Regions from separate parts of the Homo sapiens genome. Here regions 1, 2, 3, 4 and 6 are each linked to region 5. Evidence: promoter capture Hi-C in 16 types of primary human blood cells and fetal thymus (Javierre and others, 2016). All regions are on one chromosome and are shown on one strand. Each heading gives the region's core, a stretch centred on a gene start or on the middle of the fragment in contact. The rest is flanking DNA. Distances are from core to core; before and after follow the strand shown.

Region 1 (3,068 bases), core at 107-2,606, 3.9 Mb after region 5:
CCCAGGCTGGAGTACAGTGGCGCGATCTTGGCTCACTGCAAGCTCCGCCTCCCGGGTTCACACCATTCTCCTGCCTCAGCCTCCCGAGTAGCTGGGAATACAGGTGCCCGCCACCATGCCCGGCTAATTTTTTGTATTTTTAATGGAGACAGGGTTTCACCATGTTACCCAGGATGGTCTCGATCTCCTGACCTCGTGATCCACCTGCCTCGGCCTTCCAAAGTGCTGGGATTACAGGCGTGAGCCACCATGCACGGCCTGGTACTTTAATTTTTAAAGTAGATAATCACATAGGTCAACAGACTGTTTGGCAAAATGATTATTGGTGTAGTTTTCAGGGCCAATAGGAAAATTACGCATCTTTCTTACCTCTAATAGAAGAGCAAAGTAGGAAATGGGTTAACAGGTTAAATAGACTACAGAAGTTCATCTTTTAAGTTGGTTGTAAAACTTAGTGCCTGTAAAACATAGTATTTCAATAAAACTGCTGTTTTCTATAATACAGATAAAAGGGATATTAAAATACATAATTGATTTGAAAAAAATCTTTGTCTCTTAATTTAAACAGGATACAGATTATAAACCAGTGCCACTGAAAACAGGAGAAGGTGAAGAATATATGCTGGCTTTGAAACAGGAGTTGAGAGAAACAATGAAAAGAATGCCTTATTTTATTGAAACACCTGAAGAAAGACAAGGTACTGTATTGGAGTCTTTGATTATGTGGCTTAATGTATACAGATGAAACAGTGTTTAAGCACAAGATATATAATCATTTAATGTTGATTGATTCGATTCAATAAAAAATTATCAACTACTTTGAAAAAGCTATTTATGTTGCTTTAACAGAAAAAATACTTTAAACTTTTTGATATTTTATTTTTAGAAATATCTTTCATTATAATTTTATATGTTCAGTGAAAATTATGAAAAACAGGAAAATTTTAAAAAGTAAAAATTACCCATTCTTATGTCTAGAGAACCACTATTAATATTTTAGTATATATTCCAGATTTTTTCTTATGCATGTATATTCTCTTTACAAAATTAGATTCACATTACTTTGTATCTTCCTTTTTTCACTCAGTAGCATATTAGCATTTTCACATATCCTTATTATTCTTGGAAAACATGACTTTTAATGACTGGTAGTCTACTCTGTGGATATATTATTATTAACTGTAACTAATTTCCTGCTTTTTAAATATTATTTTCAGTTTTTTGCTTGTATATATAATGCCGTGATTGTTATCATTATACATAAACCTTTATGCATGTCTCTGATTATTTAATATTTAGGTTAAAAAAATTTTTGAGACTTAATTTTGTTTGGTTTATCATTTAGGTGTTTGATATGATGTAAAATATGTATTCATTGGTGCTGCTTAGGGAAGAAAGGAAACATTATAGTTGGAGAGGGCTCAACAGTCTCAGGCTAGAAGTGGGAAGTGGTTTTATAGGAAAGGAAACCATTCCTGAGTAGCTGTTTAGCACAGCAGTACTATATTGATTTTTCACTTTCTGCCCTTGATTGTTGAGATTAGAGAGACTGATATCATCTTTGAGTTCTCAAAACAACATCATTAAAACATGAGAAATTCGTAGTGTCATCTCATTCCATTCGTATTAAAAATGCATTCCATTTTTCCTCTCTCTCTAGAATAGTTTGAATTGGCTGAGTCAAAAAAGGAAGCCTTATGTAATGATCTTAGCATGTGCTTATAATTATAGGAAGCATTTTAGACAAATTCATTTAATTCTCAAAACATAGCTGCTTTAAGTTATATAATGGTTTGATAAGAAATATTTTATCTCAAAAATACTTAATTTTTTTTTTTTTTTTTTGGAAATGGGATGGAGTCTCACTCTTGTCACCCAGGCTGGAGTGTAGTGGTACAATCTCGGCTCACTGCAACCTCCGCTTCCTGGGTTCAAGTGATTCTCACATCTCAGCCTCCTGAGTAGCTGGAATTGCAGACGCACAGCACCATGCCCGGCTAATTTTTGTATTTTTAATAGAGATGTTTCACCATGTTGGCTAGGCTGGTCTTGAACTCCTGACCTCAAGTGGTCTGCCCATCTCAGCCACCCAAAGTGCTGGGATTACAGACAGACGTGAGCCACCATGCCCGGCCTAATACTGAAATTTTTAACTCTCATGATGATGTTGCATGCTTTCGTCTGTTTGAGTTCTAAAATAAAACTTTTCATTTTAAAGATTTTAAAAAGTAAGACCAAATGAACTAATCAGTATTCATTCTTATTAGAAAAAATAGTAATGCAGGGTATACTTTAGTGCTTTTAAAATTGATCTTTTCTCTATGACACAGATGCACTTAGGTGAATGTGGTTGTTATTAAAGCACATGTCTAATTTAAAAGTATGTCAAATCAGACTGGACACGGTGGCTTACTCTTGTAATCCTAGCACATTGGGAGGCTGAGGCAAGCAGATCACCTGAGGTCAGGAGTTCGAGATCAGCCTGGCCAACATGGGAAAACCCTGTCTCTATTAAAAATACAAAAGTTAGCCAGGCATGGTGGTGCATTCCTGTAATCCCAGCTACTCAGGAAGCTGAAGCAGGAGAATTGCTTGAACCCGAGAGGTGGAGGTTGCAGTGAACTGAGATTATGTCACTGCACTGCAGCCTGGGTGACAGAGTGAGACTCTGTCTCAAAAAAAAAAAGTATATCATATAATTAAAGCATTTATGTGAGTGTTTTAGACAGGGATATTAAAAACATAATTTTGTTGTTGGTCTATGGGAGTGGTTGGCTAGTACTTGGATTAAGGGGCACTTTATCTTTGATAACTATGCAATAAAGTATTTCAAAATATAAGGGTTTTTTTTTTTTTTTTGCTTTTATTTCTTTCAGGGGAAAACTCTTGTATAGAAATTTCCAAATTGATACAAGTACATTCTCCCTGAGATCTTCATGTTTACTTCTGTCTTTTTTTATTTTATTGTTTTATATTTTATTTTGGAGATGAGGTCTCGCTCTGTCACCCAGGCTGGAGTGCAGTGGGACAATCATAACTCACTGCAGCTTCCAAACTCCTGGGCTCAA
Region 2 (3,418 bases), core at 604-3,103, 3.8 Mb after region 5:
TCCTCATATGGTCTTTTCTTTGTGCTCAGGCATCTGTGGTGCCTCCCTCTGTACTCATTGCAATTCAGGACTAATCTTTTCTTACAAGGATAACAGTCAGATTGGATTAAGGCCCATCCTAACAGACCAGCCTTTGAATATGGGCTCCTTCTGGGGAAAGGATGTAACCTCGGGCAAGGTAGCACATTTTAGTCACTCAGCTATGACCCCTCCACTACGGTCTTTAGCTTTTATTTTAAAAGTTTTCTTCATGGCCAGGCACGGTTGCTCATGCCTGTAATCCTAGTACTTTGGAAGGCCAAGGCAGGGGGATCATTTCAGGCCAGGAGTTTGAGACCAGCCTGGCCAACATGGTGAAACCACGTCTCTACTAAAAATACAAATATTAGCCAGCCATGGTGGTGCATGCCTGTAATCCCAGCTACTGGGGAGGCTGAGGCACAAGAATTGCTTGAACCCAGGAGGTGGAGGTTGCAGTGAGCTAAGATCACTCCACTGCACTCCAGCCTGGGCAGCAGAGCAAGACTCCATCTCAAAAAGAAAAATTTTAAATAAAGCTTTCCTCACTTGGTGAGTTTTAACTTTTTGTGCAGTACTAAAAAGTTATCTGAAAGCTCTGAATGCGACCTGGAGCCTGTCAACTGTGATCTATACTATAGGGGGTTCTGGCTGGTCATTTCATTGGTTCTTCAGTTGTCTTTTCTCTTGACTGCTCAGATTTCCCAAAGAAGCATCTTTTGCCTAGACTTATTGTGGACACTCTGAGAGCTAAGTGGAGAAAGAAAGATTAGAGAGAGGAGTCTGAATATTCAATATGCAAATGTTCAATTAATCCCTTTTTTCAGCAAGTATTGCTCCTCCCGACCTCCGCAATACCCCACCCTACCACCACTACTCTTCTTGATGCATGTCAATCCAGAGAGGTTTTGTTCTATCTGCTTTGGAGACTAACCCCATCAAGTTGGGTAAAGGCAGTTGCCCACCTGTACAATTGGGGATTTATTTAATGGCCTCTTAAGGAAACTTTCAACCAATCTTCCTATTTTTAGCCCCATTTTCAATCTCATTTTCAGAGGTACCTGGAAATGCCAATTCCTGAACCTTCTGGATATTCTGCAGTGTAAAAGTTTCTCAGCTTTTCCCAAGTCAGCAACAAAGAATTTGGCTTTCTAAGTTTGCTGAGTCAATATTATTCATTCATCTGCCTTCTAGCTTCCAAAATTTTTGCTATTTCTTTCTCCTCCATTCTTTTTGTCCTTGTGGGTATGTACCTTTTTAAAAATATCCCTTTACTGTCATCTTAGGGAGTAAAAGTATACGTGTCTACTTAAACTCGACTTACACATTTTCTCTTTCCCTCTCTCTCATTCTCTCTCACACACACTTTTTAAAATATAGGTAGAATATTCTAGCAAAAGAAAATAAGTGTCTTTCCTACCCCTGTCTGTCACCAGTTGCCTCTTTGCCTCCAATCCCAAGCAGGTAATCACTTTTATTAGTTCTCTATGTGTTCTTCAAGAGTTTCTTTATGTATATAAAATGAAATATAAATATATATTCTTATTCCTCCTTTTTTACACAAATAGATTACTATAAGACTGTTCTGCATTTTGCCATTTTCATCTAATATTGCTTGAAGCTCTTTGCATATCAGTATAGACCTCTTGCTCATTCTTTTTAACAGCTGTATAGTATTCCAATTATTTAGCCTCCCAACAAGGGACATTTGATTTGTTTCCAATTTTCGCTATAAAAAACCTATAATGAATAGTCTTAAACATAAACAATTTTGCATGTGTACAAGTATATCCATAGGCTAAATTCCAAGAGATCTGTTAGATCATGTGGTGTAGTTATTTGTAATGTTACCAATTGCCCTCTGTGGGAGTTGTACCAATTTGTAATGCCAGCAGTGAAAGGATTCTGGTTTATTTCCCCTCCTCCTTGCATTTAACAGAGTATATTACAAAAATAATTGAATAAGTAAAAGTGGTACCTCGGTGTACTTTAATTTTGCATTTCATTAATATGAGTGATTTCATATGTCTAATGTAAATTTTTATTTCATTATTATTGAACTTTATTCAGTTCTTCATAAGGTAGAGTTAATAATTTTATTTGGAGAAAAAAGTAGTGTGTGTGTTTATGTTTGTATGTGTGTGTACATGTAACCAAAAGTTCAAAGGCATCATTACAACCTTGCTTGGCCAAATGTATAATTGCAGTATATATATTTAAAAATCTCTTGCTACATCTAAAGTATGGTATTATGTAGGTTGGTGTTTATTCAGGACAAGGAAAATTATCCAAATAAGTTATTTAGAACAAGGAATTTATCACGCAGAAGAATATGTCTGGGATAGAAGGCCCATTAACACTCAAATTATGAGTTCACTAATCTGGTCTAGGTTGAGGAAGTATGTCAAGAACAATAGCTTGCTCATATCTGAGATGTGTTAAAATTAACTGTGTGTTTAATAATATTGGGCTTAGAATCATATGGTAGAAAACATTACATTAACTGAGTAACGTAATCATTCTCAGCGTCAATTTCCTGATCTGAGAAATGGACATGGTAATATCTGTCCCACAGTGTTGGTAAACTTTCTTCACCACTGACACCCATTAATATAAATCACTTCTAATCAATGAACTCAGAAAGGAGGTAGTCATATAAGTCAGATAAAAACATCTAGAATTTAGAAAATTATACAGCTCTCAGAAAGAGAATATTTGAACCGTAAAAAATAAGGAATATTAAGATATATATGACTATAAATAAATAAAATAGCACTTGATGCTAAGAAAGCATGCATAATCTCAAAGCAGAAAATAGAATGTCTCACAACTAGAAGTGAGGCAAAAGGATAGATTTACTAACTTTGTGATTATAGAACTTACCTATTTTGTAATTATAAATAGTATAGTATGAAAATGTTTCATAAAAACTATAAGCCTTTAAATCCCAGACAAAAGCCAGTGGAGTAGGGGATAAGACATACTGAATTCGCAAAATTTAGGAAGATATGTTTTCATGAAAAAGAGTTTTCTCTGCTTTCTTTAGGTAATCTTGTAGATATATTAAACAGAAATTCTTCTCAAATAAAGACTGAATTTATATTTTCACTTAATAGTTTATTCTACTTTTAAAAAGCTTAACTAACAAATCAAGAAAACCTCATATTTTGTTTATTTTTCTATTTTAATTACTAGATATAATGTAAAAATAAAATTATACCACAAGAAATACCATTATGTGGAATATAAAAAGCACTTTTTTTCAAATAGGTGTATACACTTAAAAAATAAAACTATAATATCATGTAACTGTTGTGTAAAACAAATGTTCTTCCTCAGATTCATTTTTTTGTTGCAGCAATAGGTCCCCCTGGTGGAGATTGAAAATATATTTTGTTCT
Region 3 (3,338 bases), core at 773-3,272, 3.9 Mb after region 5:
TGTCCTCTGCCTTCAAACTCAGTGTCTTCCTTCCTCCTCCTCTTTTTTTTTTTAATCAAGGGAGGAAATCCCCTTTATCCTATTTGGGGCTAACGGCCCTATCCTTTTTTGGAACCATAGTCCTCCAGTCATTTCCCTTTCCATATTTTTAACCTCTTTTTCTGCTTGTCTCTTCCATTCATGAATGTTCATTTCCCATTGTAAAACATGTTCATTTCCCATTGTAAAATATGTTGTCCACATTCTCCCTCATGCCATCTCTTGAAAAGCTTCTTTAGCTGTCATCACCCCTCCCCCTCCCCCACCATTAGCTCTTTTCAATCTTAGTTTCACCTCCATCCTATTCAAATAATTGCTTTTGACAAATAGAAGTAGCTTAAAGAAAGAAATTATTGCTACCACGCTCACCATAGACAAATTTTAGCCTTTATGTCACTTAACTTTTTTGCAGCATTTAACACTTCTGACAGCTCTATTATTAAAATATTATTTCCTGGCCAAGCGCAGTGGCTCACTCTGTAATCCCAGCACTTTGGGAGGCCAAGGCGGGTGGATCACGAGGTCAGGAGTTCAAGACAAGCCTTGCCAACATGGTGAAACCCTGTCTCTACTAGAAATAAAAAATTAGCCAGGCGTGGTGGCGGGTGCCTGTAATCCCAACTACTTGGGAGGCTGAGGCAGGAGAATCACTTGAACCCAGAAAGCAGAGGTCGCAGTGAGCTGAGATCGTGCCACTGCACTCCAGCCTGGGCAACATATATATATTTATGATTTCCTTTATTTAAATTCAACAATTTACAGCAATTATATGCATCTTCTATATGCCAGGCATTGTGCTAATTGCCAAGTCTTAGACAAACATGGTTGCTTCCCTTAATTTTTGTTACATAATGCTTTTCGTTTTTCTCCTATTTCTGGTACATTTTTATGGTCTCTGGAGTTCTTTCTAGTCTTTAAATGTCAGTATTCTTCAGGGCTCTTCCCTCGGGCTTCTTTTTCTTGCTGTAATCTCTCTGATTGCATCCCTCCCCATAGTTACCCTGTATAAACATGTAACTCCTCAGTTCTTTTTCATTCAACCTATAGTAAGTGTACACTAAGTATATGCTTGGAATTGTACTAGGCAATGGGAATATGAAGATAAGATACAGTTCTTCTCTCAGGGAAATTACTAGAGAGACAAAAAAGGTAACAGTTAATATACAGTGAATAATGCTGTGATACAGTAGTACCGGATGCTATAGCGGCATATAAGAGATGCTGTGGGCACACCAAAGTCTATTTTAGGCATATCAAAGATGATATTTCAAAGAAGACAATTTAGGTGATCTGAAGAGCTAATCAGATCAAGATAGGAACATGGAATGGAGTGGACACTTGCAGGGAGAAAAAAGAACATGGAGAGAGGCTTGCAGGTGATGGGAGTGTAGCTTCTTAATTTAACTGACCAGATAAATCGGTATGGCGGGACTAGAGGGTGTTAAGTGGGCTTGTGTTGAGAGATGAAGCTGGAGAGATGAGCAGGTCATTAAGGACTTTGAATGTCAAGCTGAGAAATTTGACTTTATCCTGAGTACTGTGGGGAGCATTGAGGGGTTTTAAACAGTGGAATGGTATAATCATGTTTATATTTTAGAAAGCTCAGTTGCTTTGAATGGAAGAGCCAAGTTTGGGTCATATTTGAAAGCTTATTGCTGTAAACCAGTGGTTTTCAATACTCTTGAAAGGATATTTGGTAGTGTCTGGAGATATATTTGGTTGTCACACTGCCATGGGGGTAGTAGGGTGGTGGTGCTATAGGTTCTAGTTTGTGTGGTCAATACTCTAGACAAGACTGGCATTTGCAATGCTCTGTTGACAATGTCTGCTTGCACTGAGTTCAGGATCAAGACCATCCTGGCTAACACGGTGAAACCCCGTCTCTACTAAAAATACAAAAAATTAGCCGGGCGTGGTGGCAGGCGCCTGTAGTCCCGGCTACTCGGGAGGCTGAGGCAGGAGAATGGCGTGAACCAGGGAGGCAGAGCTTTCAGTGAGCCGAGATCGCGCCACTGCACTCCAGCCTGGGTGACAAGAGTGAGACTGCGTCTCAAAGAAAAAAAAAAAAGATTACTAACGTCACACAATTACCAAATTTGAATCACTTAAACAGAACTTGGAGGAGGTACTCATGTCTAAAACACAAGTGACATATGCTTGATTTGGAATACTAGAGTATCCCTTCCTTATTCATCTCCACTTTATGTACAAATCGGCTTACTTTTATTTCTACACAAGTGTTCTTGCCAAAGGTCTCCTTTACAATGAGACCTCATTTGAACTCTCAACCATGCCACCCTCCCCTGGTACACAGGCCCCAAGCTTCACCCAGGTGTCTAAATATTGCCAAATTTTTTTGGCACCAGAAAAGCCAGGCCAACTTTCCAGAGATGGGAATGGTCTTAGCTGAATGCAGAAACTTAAAGTATCTAGGGAAGAAAAAGTAATGAGATAACTATCTAAAGAATGCATATACAGTGAATAATGCATGTTACCTTTCTTGCATTATGTAAATATATTAAAAATCCCACTATCCAGATTTAAAAAAAAAAAAAAACTTTGGAAAAAAATTAGTAAAATTGATAGGAGACTTTCTTTTGAGAGTAGTCTGTATTTCTTACTATAGATAGTAGAGATGTGGACATTAATTTCTTATTATAGCAGATCTCAATCATGTGCAAAAATGTAGTGACTAGTAAAAGAAACACCCATGGTCTTATCACTCAGCTTTAACAATGGTCAATTCATAGCTAATCTTTCAACCACTCATTCATCTACCCAATCCCTCCCTGTCCACCCATCCCATTCCCCGTGCCCCATGTGCCTTGGATTCCAAAGAAAATCCTAGGCATCGTATCATTTCATCCACAAATATGTCAGTATGGATTCAAAAATAAGGGCTCTTTAACAACATCACTGTATCATTATAACACCCCATACAATGAAATATAATTCCTTAATTTCATCAAATATCTGGCCAGTATTGAATTTTCTTGGTTGTCTCAAAAAGTTTGTTTGTTCCAAACAGAATCCAAATACAATCCATACATTGCAACTGATTAATAACTCTTAGGTTTAATTTATATCCAAAGTGGATTTTTGATTGTAAGATACTGGAGGCCCGGAAAAATAAATAAGAAAGTAATATTTGAATTTTTGATAGAAAGCACAGATATTTTCTGAGTTATTTGCATGGATGATAGTCTTATTCAGCCACAAGAAAAAGAAACTAAGAGGTCCTAGATAGAATATAATATAGGCATCTTTTGGATTTGGTTTGGTATCATGCCTTTTTTTTT
Region 4 (3,390 bases), core at 508-3,007, 3.9 Mb after region 5:
AATATAGTTGAATCCAACCCTTGAAAAGCACTTTCTGACCTTGCTCTAATGGCAATATTATAATGCTTTAAAAGCTCAAGAGTTCCTATTCAGATAACACAGATAACTAATAGCTATATGTTAAGTAGATTATTTCAACTGTTCTCTGAAGTGCTACATTATTACCAAGAACTAGGATTCCTAACTTGACAGCTATGAAACTAAAGAAAACTATCACATTTTATATCTCAAAAGCAGTTTTGAAGTCATGACCACATCTTTTCCTCCAAGGATAACAGTTTTATTTCCACTCATTTAACCAGGTCTTTTTTTAATCTTGTGTCTTTAACCTAGGGAATGTCTTTGAATCCTGTAGATTCCAGGCAAATTTTATACATATGTATATTTTTCTGGGGAGAATTTTCATTGCTTCATATTCTCAAAAGGCATCCATGATCAAAAAAGTTAAGACTTAATATACAGCAATTTACACTTGGCTATACCGACCTACTTATGTGTCTTGTTAGACAGTTTCACCCTAATAATTTGTACTTAGAACTTCAAAATTGGCTTAGTAGTGCAGCTAACTGAAAATCACTAAGCAATGCCCCAAAGCCATTTTAGATACTTGTTTCTATCAACCTCTCTCCACGATATATTTCTAAATATAATTTAAAGGTCAGAACTTCACCTGTCTCACTATCTCTCCACTCCCCTTTATAATGAAATGCAGGCAGCTGACTATCGTGTTACAAATCTGGGTATTCTGAATGATCAAGAACTGGCTGTGTCTTCAACCGAAGTGAACAGACTGACCCAGGCGATCACTCCAGTCTACTACTCAGAGATTAGAAAATACATAATATTTAAGTCATCTGGCTCAATTCTATTCACCTCTCTTAATTCTCTTAGAGCAGGAAAAAGGCACGAACTCCCTTTCAGAAACTTGGAACAAGCCTGCGTGCTACCTAGATTACGAGGGGCCACAAAACAGTGTTAAAGCATTCTTCAGCTCAGTCTGTAACTGAAAACGGTTTCCCAAACACCTTCGTACTGTAGAATGGCTGCTGGGTGTTTCGCCTTGACCTTCTTTAACTAAGCAAGGTGCAATAAGAGGGTCACAGGGCACAAGTTAAAGCTGCAAAGGGACAGAATCAAAGGCACCCTATCCGCTGCCAGGGACAATTTTGTTTTTTAAAACTTAACTACCTCCTCCCTCTGTATTCCACACGTCAAGTTTTTCTTTCCCTGCTATCGTCAGCGAAGATTACGTCTCAGAGTCTTCTGTCACAGCATGACACTTGAACGATGTGACAAGATGCCGTCAGCGAATATTTCACGCCAACATAAAGTCGTGGGAGAAATGCTGTGTTTGGGTGGGAAATTAGCTGCCCAGGTAATCCAGCAGGTAGGCGTCCTTCCTCTGAGCCTCAGTTTCCCCGACAGTGTGACAAGAGGGCCTGGCAGGGCTGGTCTGGAAGTTCTTCCCTGTCTCGGGGGTGTCCGCCACACGGGCCGAGCCCGGCCCTGCAGCCCCCACCACACCTGTGGCCGAGGCTCAGCGCCTCCCGTGAGGACGCAGCTGGGGCTCAACCCCGCCCTCCTGGACCGGGCTACCCTCACCTCCTGCCACCATCTTTACCTGTCCCCGTTAGCAGGGAGCACTCTGCGAGAAGATGGCCAAAAGGTCCGCCGCCGCCGCTGTCCCGGGTAAGTTCATGGCCGAGCCTCTGCTTTGGGCTGACCCCGTCCGCCTCCGCCTCTGCCGCCAACGTCTCCGCCTTCCGGGCCGTACGCCGCCGCCACGTCCGCAAACCTGAGATGCGTCATCGCGTCAAGTGGGCGGAGGTGGGAAGGGGCGGGGGAGGACGCGGAGGGCAGCCCAAAACGGGGGAGTCCAACCACAGGTCCACGCCCGGCACGCAGGCGCAGGGACTCCTCCGGGGCCCGGGGGCGGGTCCAATCCCCGGGCCCGGGGGCGGGTCCAATCCCCAGCCCCGCCCTTGACTCCGCTCCTTCCGTGCCGCTTCACTCCCCGAGGAAAAGATTTGGTGGCCAAGTCAGCGGATCCAACCCGCGACCACCAGCGACCTACTGGCTGCGTCTTTGTCCAGCGTCCACACTGCGCTGGCAGAGACTGTCGGGTGCACCCTGAGGACGAGGCGTGGCTCAGGATGTGTCGGGGAGCTGTCTTGCATTTTTTTCTTGCTGTGCATCTCGAATTTTCTTTAGGGTGGGAAAGGACACCTCAAAAACACTGTTGACATCACGGTTTCAGAAAATTGCGCCATGTTTGTTACCCTTTTCATGCTGAAGACTCCAGACTGCTGCAGAAGAGGCAGAATTCTGGAGAGAAATCCTTGGGGGACCGAGGACGAGGGTTGGAGGGGGTTGTCTCACCCTTCCTGTTTTTAGGTGAGGGAAGTGAGCCACCTAGAGTCAGGCCCCAGGAAATGTTTTCCCTGGCTCGAGGAGTCAAGGGAGTCAACAAATTGTAATCTAACTTATTTTGGTTTGAAAATTAACTGAGTCATTGGTAGTCACCATTGGACTCTATGGAATATTAGCTTATTAAATAAACTCATGACTTCATACATGATTTTTATCACAAATGTGTTAAATGAGTATCATAATGTGTTTGAATTTATGTATGACTTTGGCAAAAGCCGCAACTACTTTTGCACCAACCTAATTAATGAATGTAAAGCATTTTAATGAGTCTGATGTCTCTCAGTGTTGATATTAGAGACGTTGCACTTTGACAACCATGCTAACTGTTACGACAATATCCATTTTAGGCACAAATAGCTGGGGTGCAGGGTGCAGAGCAGTGCTTTTCAGAATGTCTGAATATTTATACATTAGAAAGCCTTTGAAGCTTGGTTTTAAATTGTTTTTCAAAGAGTATGTTTTTGGTTTTCTGGTAAGTGCCTCTGCAAAGGTTAGGAGTTTTGCATTGCAATAGTTTTCTTTTATTAGCAGGGATAGGCACTGTGCTTCCCAGCGCCACAAAAAAAAACTGCAGGAGAAGACTTTTTTAAAAAGTTTGTCTGAATTGTTCTGTGTGTTGTTGCCCTCATGACACCCCTGTCTGTAACCATTTATCACTGAGACGTTCTCTCATCAGCAGACAAAGGATATATTCCCTGCTTGATATGTAGGACTTCGGCTGCTTAGCCCTCATGAATGTTAATGGGAATACAACCTTCTTTCTGTCTATAGGTTACTTTTCTTATTTTAATGTCAATAGACAGCGGAATTAATGTGAGAGCCAAAGTGATAGATTTCAAGCACTTCTATAGGACCGATACCTGTATCCTTCATATAAATAACTTTCTCAAAGATATCTGCATGCTCTTGAATAGTTATTTGTATTTAACAAGGATGCAAATATTAAACTTTTTATAAAAA
Region 5 (3,479 bases), core at 36-2,535:
AAGAAGCTACTTGTTGAAACAAAATATGAATTTAAGTGTTTTTTTTAAGTGTTTTTTTGGGGGGGAGGGGCATGGTTGTTCTCTTCCAAAAACTGAAAAAAAAAAAAAAAAAAAAGACGAAAAGAGCATATATGTTATGCCCTTTTCAAAGCAAACCTTAGGTCTTATTGGAATTGTTTCCTAATGCTATATAAATGAGACACGTGAGGCAATATACACTCCCCCACAGATGAATAACATAACATTTAGGTTACCAGGGCCTTTCACAATCTAACCTAACACCACTTTCCCAGGTTCATTTATCACTGGTTTCTTCTCAATACCTTCTGGTCAAAGACCACCAGAAGCACACATGTAATTGACAAACGGGGTTTATTATTCATTGCAGTAAGGGTTCTCTGTAAAATATTAGAAAATGCTTATTGGATTTGGGATTTTTTTCTCCTAATATTGGCTACCTTACCAAATCTTAGGAGGAAGAAAGGCTAGATCAAGGCTAAGATTGTAATTGGTAAAGAAGCAGAAGTCATCAAATTAAACCAGATAGGGTGATGTCCGGTCATTTTCGTGGCTTGGACAATGTTTTATCTGTGTTCAGATGTGATTACACAGTGATCATATTCTTTTCTTAATGAACACTGTCAGAGTGGTCTTGTTGGATGCTAATGCTTGCTGAAATTGTGTACGTTCATCAGGCGGACACCAGTTCCTAGTCCAGGCTAGCTCCAGGTGTCAGAGGCCACTTTTCCCTTCTACTCCTCACACATGCTGTACTCATACCAGACTTGAGTTTTCCCTGCCCTTTGTTCTTCCTTCTTTTTTATTCGATTCCCATTATCTTTAGTGATCATTCCCTTAGCATTTCAGTTTTCTCTCTGAAGTCCTTTGTGCTGCACGTTGTTTGATTACTTGTGTTTATGCTTTGTTTCTTCAGCTAGGATCATTAGCACATATCTCTCAGCATTGGCAAAAGTCCTCGAAATCATTGACACCTAGCATATACTTTATTTTTAAAAAAGAAAGAAAGAAGAGAAAAGGGATGGGTTTATTGTCCTTTTCAACAGACTAGAGTATACGGGGTGAAACTGCTTCACTTGATTCAATAAAATCGTTTCCGGTAACAGGCCCCAGGAATCCTAGACCTAAGCCTGGCGCGAAACTACATTTCCCACAATCCTTCGGGGGCTGATAAGGCTCCGCAATGGTCTGAACTACAATTCCCACAATCCAGGGCGATTTCCGCTTTGTCGCGTTTCCTCAAGGCTCCGCCCCATTTCCCATCTTTCTTTTCAGTCCTTGCGCACCGGGGAACAAGGTCGTGAAAAAAAAGGTCTTGGTGAGGTGCCGCCATTTCATCTGTCCTCATTCTCTGCGCCTTTCGCAGAGCTTCCAGCAGCGGTATGTTGGGCCAGAGCATCCGGAGGTTCACAACCTCTGTGGTCCGTAGGAGCCACTATGAGGAGGGCCCTGGGAAGGTTAGTGTGTAAGGGGCACGGCTTCGTTGGGGGAGGGGGCGCTTGGCTGTGACTCGCGCACCTGCAAGGCCGCCTCCGGGCTGTGGCGTGGGAGATGATAGCCAGAAACCAGGCTGAGACGCAGACTAGCATTCCACTTAGCCCAAGGACCAGTGAGGAAGCTGGGCATCCTAGCGCGTAGCCGCTAAAGGAATGGGCAGGTAGATCCGGAAGCCCTGCCTCCATCAGCCACCTGACGCCCCCTCCCCCGCCCCGCAGAAAGCCCTGAGATGGCTCCGGGAGGCCACGGCTGTAGGTGTGTTGGTTAAATCCGAGCTGGAGGTCATCGGACCCGAAATGAAGGTCATTGGAAAATCATGAGGAAATCAGGGCCTCTGGTTATGGAACAGGCTTTTTAAACTAGCTGCCTAAGTTAGAAGTACTAACCCTTCACCTCAGTTAAGGCTGGGTTTGGCCTCAGGTGTAAATAACTTAAACCACATAGCAGTAACAATCTCGGAGGGTCACACGAGGCCTAGTCATAAAGGCCAGAGAAGGTGCTTGGTAATGAAAAACAAACAAACAAAAAAAACTGTGGGCCAGGTGCGGTGGCGCACGCCTGTAATCGGGAGGCTAAGGCGTTCGGATCACCTGAGGTCAGGAGTTCCAGACCAGCCTGGCCAACATGGCGAAACCCTGTCTCTACTAAAAAGTACAAAAAAATTAGCCGGACGTGGTGGTGTGTGCCTCTAATCCCAGCTACTCGGGAGGCTGAGGCAGGAGAATCGCTTGAACCCGGGAGGTGGAGGTTGCAGTGAGCCGAGATCGGGCCACTGCACTCCAGCCTGGACAGAGCGGGACTCCGTCTCAAAAAAAAAAAAAAAGAAAAAAAAAGAGCTGTATTGCACTTAACATTGCCATGTATCTTCTAAGGTGACTACTTAGGACAGTAGTTTTTTCGATTTTCTAAAGTAAGAAACTTCTCACTATTTGACGTTTGAGTCCTCAAGACCATTCATTGCCTAGTGCTTAGTAAAGCCAGATTATTTCTTGCCATGTAGTGTTTTGTGATGAAGGTCATAGGATTTGAAAGATAAATGTTTAAAACGATGTTATGATTTATGGCATATGTTAACCTGATGATGTAAAATATAACTAGCATTTCCTGTATACTTGTATTTTGATTATTAAGCAGATGATTTGAGATTCAATTTCGATTACTTTTTCTCTTTTTTTCCAACAGAATTTGCCATTTTCAGTGGAAAACAAGTGGTCGTTACTAGCTAAGATGTGTTTGTACTTTGGATCTGCATTTGCTACACCCTTCCTTGTAGTAAGACACCAACTGCTTAAAACATAAGGATGTTTCAGTTCCTCCATTTAACAGGTAGTTAGTGGATTTCTAATCATGTTAAAGCAGGCCTTTTTATTAAGTAGCCTCTTCCCCATCACCCAGAACACACACACAAATACATTGTTGTGTAGGGCTGATTCCTGAGGTTATGTGTAGATGTGGCATTGGTGGAGACTAGTTGTAAACCTATATAAAAATATTTCAATAATGGCCAGTGTTTATTGAATACTACTGCTTATCAGGTACACTTTACATCGATATCTCATGTTCTCTAGCAAGCTTGTGAGGCGGATGATAGTAACCCCATCTGAGACACAGAGATGTTAAGTTGTTCAACATCTCATAACTAGTATAATGGTGGACCAGGACTCTTGCCCAGGCAGTTTCTTGTTGCAGAACTCACACTTTTAACCAGGTAAAACTGATAAACTGATTAATGTTACTCTATCTTGAACACTGTTACTAGAACAGTAGCTGAGAATGTGTCTTTTAAAACACTATAAACATTTCCATTTCTTTTAGAAAGTGGTCACTGTGCTCCTAGTTTTTAAATTGGCTTACAATACTTGTTTAAGTTGTGAAAAATCCCTGAAGATAAAACCCTTCTAGTGCTCCTTGATACATAAGTCCCAGATAATTATGCAATTGTAAATCTGTGCCTCACCAACTCA
Region 6 (3,463 bases), core at 768-3,267, 3.6 Mb before region 5:
TACAGGTTGAACATCTCTAATCCAAAATCCAAAATGTTCCAAAATCAAAATTTTTTGAGTGCCAAAATGATGCTAAAAAAAAAATGTTCATTGGAGCATTTTGGATTTCTGATTAGAGATGCTCAACGAGTAAGTATAATGCAATTATTCCAAAATCCCACCAAAAATTTGAAATCCAAAACACTCCTGGCTCCAAGCATTTTGGAAAAAAGATACTTAGCTTGTATTTAATAGTTTGAGTCTTATTCCAAAGTTAAAATTTAACACAAGAGTCATAAGAAACCATAAGTTTCATAAGTTTCCACAGTCAAACAAAATCATAGGTTTCCAGTTAAAGTAAATGGAGGTGGACTTATTCTATTCAAAATTCAGCTCTAGCATCACCTTTTTAAGGAAGTTTCCTTGAATCCATCTGCCTCCCTTCTCTTATTTTATGTAGAACTCTCTTTTCTAGTCTCATAGCAAACTGTTACCTTTATTATAATATTCATTTCTGAAGGGTAGACATTGTTATCAGATTATCAGACTCTGAATCTCCAGCACCAATCATATGCCTGTCTCACACTAGAAGCCCAATAAGAGAGAGTTGAAAAAAATAAAATGAAATTAAGAAAGTGCAAGAATATTACTGTGTATATATAACAAAGAATAACATTTTCATCATATACAGGGAGATAAAATATGTCAATCTCACACAACAGCCAGCAATATGCTTGTTTAGTAAACTTAGAGGCACCTTCTAAAAAACAAACAAAAAAATCAGGAATGAAACAAAGAATGACTCATGAGAAAACTTAGTTACACAAAATTGGTACTTGCGGCTGAGTGCTTACTTGAAAAGTCCTAAAGAATTTAGTGAAAAACAGTTATAGATCTTAAGGAAATTGAGTAAGGTGGCTGGGTACATAATTAAAATATATAAATCAATAGCCTTCATAATCATATTATCATTCAGGAGAAAGACAATGGAAAAAAGATAGCATCCAGAACGAACAGCTAAAATATCTAGGAATAAGCTTAACAAGAAATGTGCAACATTGGCATCAAAGAAAAAAACTGACAAAATCTTAAAACATATGGAAGAACATAAAAGTAGAAGAGACTGTTGCTATGGTTTAGAAATGGTTTTTCATCCCTACCAAAGCTCAGATTGAAATTTGATCCCCAGTAAGGTAGTGTTGGGAAGTGGGGCCTAGTGGGAGGTGTTTGGGTTTGGGGACGGGGTGGTGGGGGGTAGATCTCCCATGAATGTCAGGGTGCTCTTCTCATTAGTGAGATCTCACAAGACTGGATTAGTTTTCCAAGAAATGAATTCTTTCCGGAGAGAGCACGTTGTTATAAAGCCATGATGCTCCTCCCTCCTTTTCACCAGGTCTGTTTCCCCTTTGACCTTCTCAGCCATGTTGTGATGCAACATAAAAGCCCTTCCCAGGAGGGCCAAGCCCTACTACTCTTAGCCTGCACAACTGAGAGCTAAGTGACCCTTTTTTCTTAACCAATTACCCAATTTCAGTTTTTTTTTAAATAGCAACATAACATGGATTAAGAAACCTGGTATGCCAGATTTTTATATTGGAAGGCAACATTGTAAAGACAACCTATAAATTTAAAGTGAACCCAATACCAACAAGTTATCTTTTAAACAGACAACTAATTCTGAAGTTCATATGGAAAAAATAAGGCAAGAATAGCCAGGAGAATCTTAAAAACAAAAAAATGGACACTAGAAACTGTTCCAATGTCATTTGAATCTTTTCTATATTTTTATGATAAATACATGCAAACTACTGAAAAAATTAAAAAACTATATACATTATTTACCAATATTCTCAAGGACAAAAAGTGCTTATGCACAATGCTAAGCAGTAGGCAAAAGGGGATCAAAGATTTCAGACAGCACATCTTAAGGTATGTAAACTTTTATGCAAAGAAAGTGTGAAAATGCTGTGATTATCTGTGGATAGTTTTTTGGTGGGGGGTGGAGGGACAGAGTCTTGCTCTACTGCCCAGGCTGAAGTGCAGTGGTGGGATCTTGGCTCACTGCAACCTCCACCTCGTGGGTTCAAGTGATTCTCCTGCCTCAGTCTCCCCAGTAGCTAGGATTACAGTCATGCTCCACTACGCCTGGCTAAATTTTGTATTTTTTTTTTTTTAGTAGAGACAGGGTTTCGCTGTGTTGGCCAGGCTGGACTCAAACTCTTGATCTCAAGCGATCTGCCCACCTTGGCCTCCTAAAGTGCTGGGATTACAGGCGTGAGCCATCTCTAGATAGTTTTTAATCTAATTCTCAACTTTTCTAGATTTCTCAAATTGTCTAAGTGACACTTTTATGGTCTGAAAAAGACAAAAATGATTTGTAATTACCAGTTTAATACTTGTTTTTCTATGCATTATTTTTTCATAGATATAACAAAGATAAAATTTAATGTATCTTGGGTTTTAATTAAATTGGGTTTTAATCTTAAACCTGTGAAAGCCAGTGATACACATTTTATAACATAAATCAATGAATTAGCTCATGATCAATTGTAGATAAAAAGCATGGTATCTCACAATGCTTATCTTTCAAAGGTCATATTTTGAATATGTATGTGAATATATTAATAAATAATATTGGATAATGACCTCATAGAAAATAAAGCAGATTTCCTCCCAACATAACTAAATGTGTATTTGGTATCCACTTTGTCTGAGAAATGAGGCAGTGGGGATTAAAAAAAAGGCACATGGTATGATTCCTTCCCTACAGGAGTTTATGGCTAACAATAGCAATTACTGATATTCACTGAGTACTTGTTTTATGTTATCCTCATGTATCTGGGGTAAATATTACCTGAATTTTATTCATGATTGTTATTACCTGTATTTTATACATGAGACTGAGGCACACAGCAGTTATAATCAAGTAATCAAGTGAAAACAGAGCATGTACTTTAAAAAGTAAATAGTAACTCATTGTTGAATGTGGAAGTGAGTTATGCAGACAAAAAATGCCATTTTTGTAAGAAAAAGTCAGGAAAAGCTTCATGTAGAAAGCAGGAACGGAGTCAAACCTTGAAAGGGCACCATTCAGATGGGCAAATAGCAAGCTCCAGAAGAGAAAAAAAAATGTGGGAAAAAAACCCTACAGAAAAAGTCATTGGCACGTTCAGGGAATAATGAGAATCTTACTGTATTTTAAGCAAAAGATTCCTACAGTAAAATGGTTGGAAAACAAATCTTCAAAGTAGGTTTATCATTTTCCTAATGCAGTATCTAAATTCATGACTTTGTAATGTGTTCTCTTTCCTTCTCCAAATGTGTTTTTAAAGAAAACATGCTTAAATGATATAATGTTCAGGATTGGTTTCTAAATAATCCAGTGCATGTGTGGTGGGAGAGGGGTAGGGTTGATGATAAAATGCTGAGAATATGAGGGTTCATTATAGGCTTCTACCTCTTTATGTTTGAATGTTTTCATAAT

Evidence for each region. Contacts are between HindIII fragments. The CHiCAGO score rates a contact against its expected background, and 5 or more counts as called.
Region 1: a contact is called between a fragment that was not itself captured here and the fragment with the promoter of COX7C in region 5, in 2 of 17 cell types (total CD4 T cells and naive CD4 T cells). The highest score is 7.3, in total CD4 T cells.
Region 2: a fragment that was not itself captured here is called in contact with the fragment with the promoter of COX7C in region 5 in 1 of 17 cell types (total B cells); the score reaches 8.2 in total B cells.
Region 3: a contact is called between a fragment that was not itself captured here and the fragment with the promoter of COX7C in region 5, in 1 of 17 cell types (non-activated CD4 T cells). The highest score is 7.4, in non-activated CD4 T cells.
Region 4: the fragment with the promoter of LYSMD3 here is called in contact with the fragment with the promoter of COX7C in region 5 in 9 of 17 cell types (non-activated CD4 T cells, activated CD4 T cells, naive CD8 T cells and 6 more); the score reaches 28.9 in non-activated CD4 T cells.
Region 6: a fragment that was not itself captured here is called in contact with the fragment with the promoter of COX7C in region 5 in 2 of 17 cell types (activated CD4 T cells and total CD4 T cells); the score reaches 6.9 in activated CD4 T cells.

What each region holds. Positions count from the first base shown.
Region 1 is chr5:90,487,432-90,490,499 of GRCh38, forward strand. It overlaps POLR3G (RNA polymerase III subunit G), which reads left to right. Exons shown (of 8, transcript NM_006467.3): 3 at 569-698. Among named protein-coding and RNA genes, the nearest start is that of POLR3G, 14 kb to the left of the region's middle. The HindIII fragment of the contact is 5,238 bases long and covers 1-3,068 here.
Region 2 is chr5:90,382,920-90,386,337 of GRCh38, forward strand. No RefSeq gene overlaps it. Among named protein-coding and RNA genes, the nearest start is that of CETN3, 25 kb to the right of the region's middle. The HindIII fragment of the contact is 2,597 bases long and covers 556-3,152 here.
Region 3 is chr5:90,508,288-90,511,625 of GRCh38, forward strand. The region is part of intron 7 of POLR3G (RNA polymerase III subunit G); the gene reads left to right. Among named protein-coding and RNA genes, the nearest start is that of LYSMD3, 20 kb to the right of the region's middle. The HindIII fragment of the contact is 674 bases long and covers 1,686-2,359 here.
Region 4 is chr5:90,527,827-90,531,216 of GRCh38, forward strand. LYSMD3 (LysM domain containing 3) reads right to left here and starts at 1,758. Exons shown (of 3, transcript NM_198273.2): 1 at 1,622-1,758. RefSeq lists enhancers at 1,029-1,529, 2,155-2,414 and a silencer at 1,795-2,044. The HindIII fragment of the contact is 4,420 bases long and covers 1-2,855 here.
Region 5 is chr5:86,616,656-86,620,134 of GRCh38, forward strand. COX7C (cytochrome c oxidase subunit 7C) reads left to right here and starts at 1,286. Exons shown (of 3, transcript NM_001867.3): 1 at 1,286-1,475; 2 at 2,698-2,841. The coding sequence starts at 1,401. The coding sequence ends at 2,814. RefSeq lists enhancers at 954-1,033, 1,045-1,710, 1,097-1,391, 1,324-1,413, 1,711-2,376. The HindIII fragment of the contact is 5,230 bases long and covers 1-3,085 here.
Region 6 is chr5:83,065,540-83,069,002 of GRCh38, forward strand. The region is part of intron 1 of TMEM167A (transmembrane protein 167A); the gene reads right to left. Among named protein-coding and RNA genes, the nearest start is that of TMEM167A, 10 kb to the right of the region's middle. The HindIII fragment of the contact is 2,006 bases long and covers 1,015-3,020 here.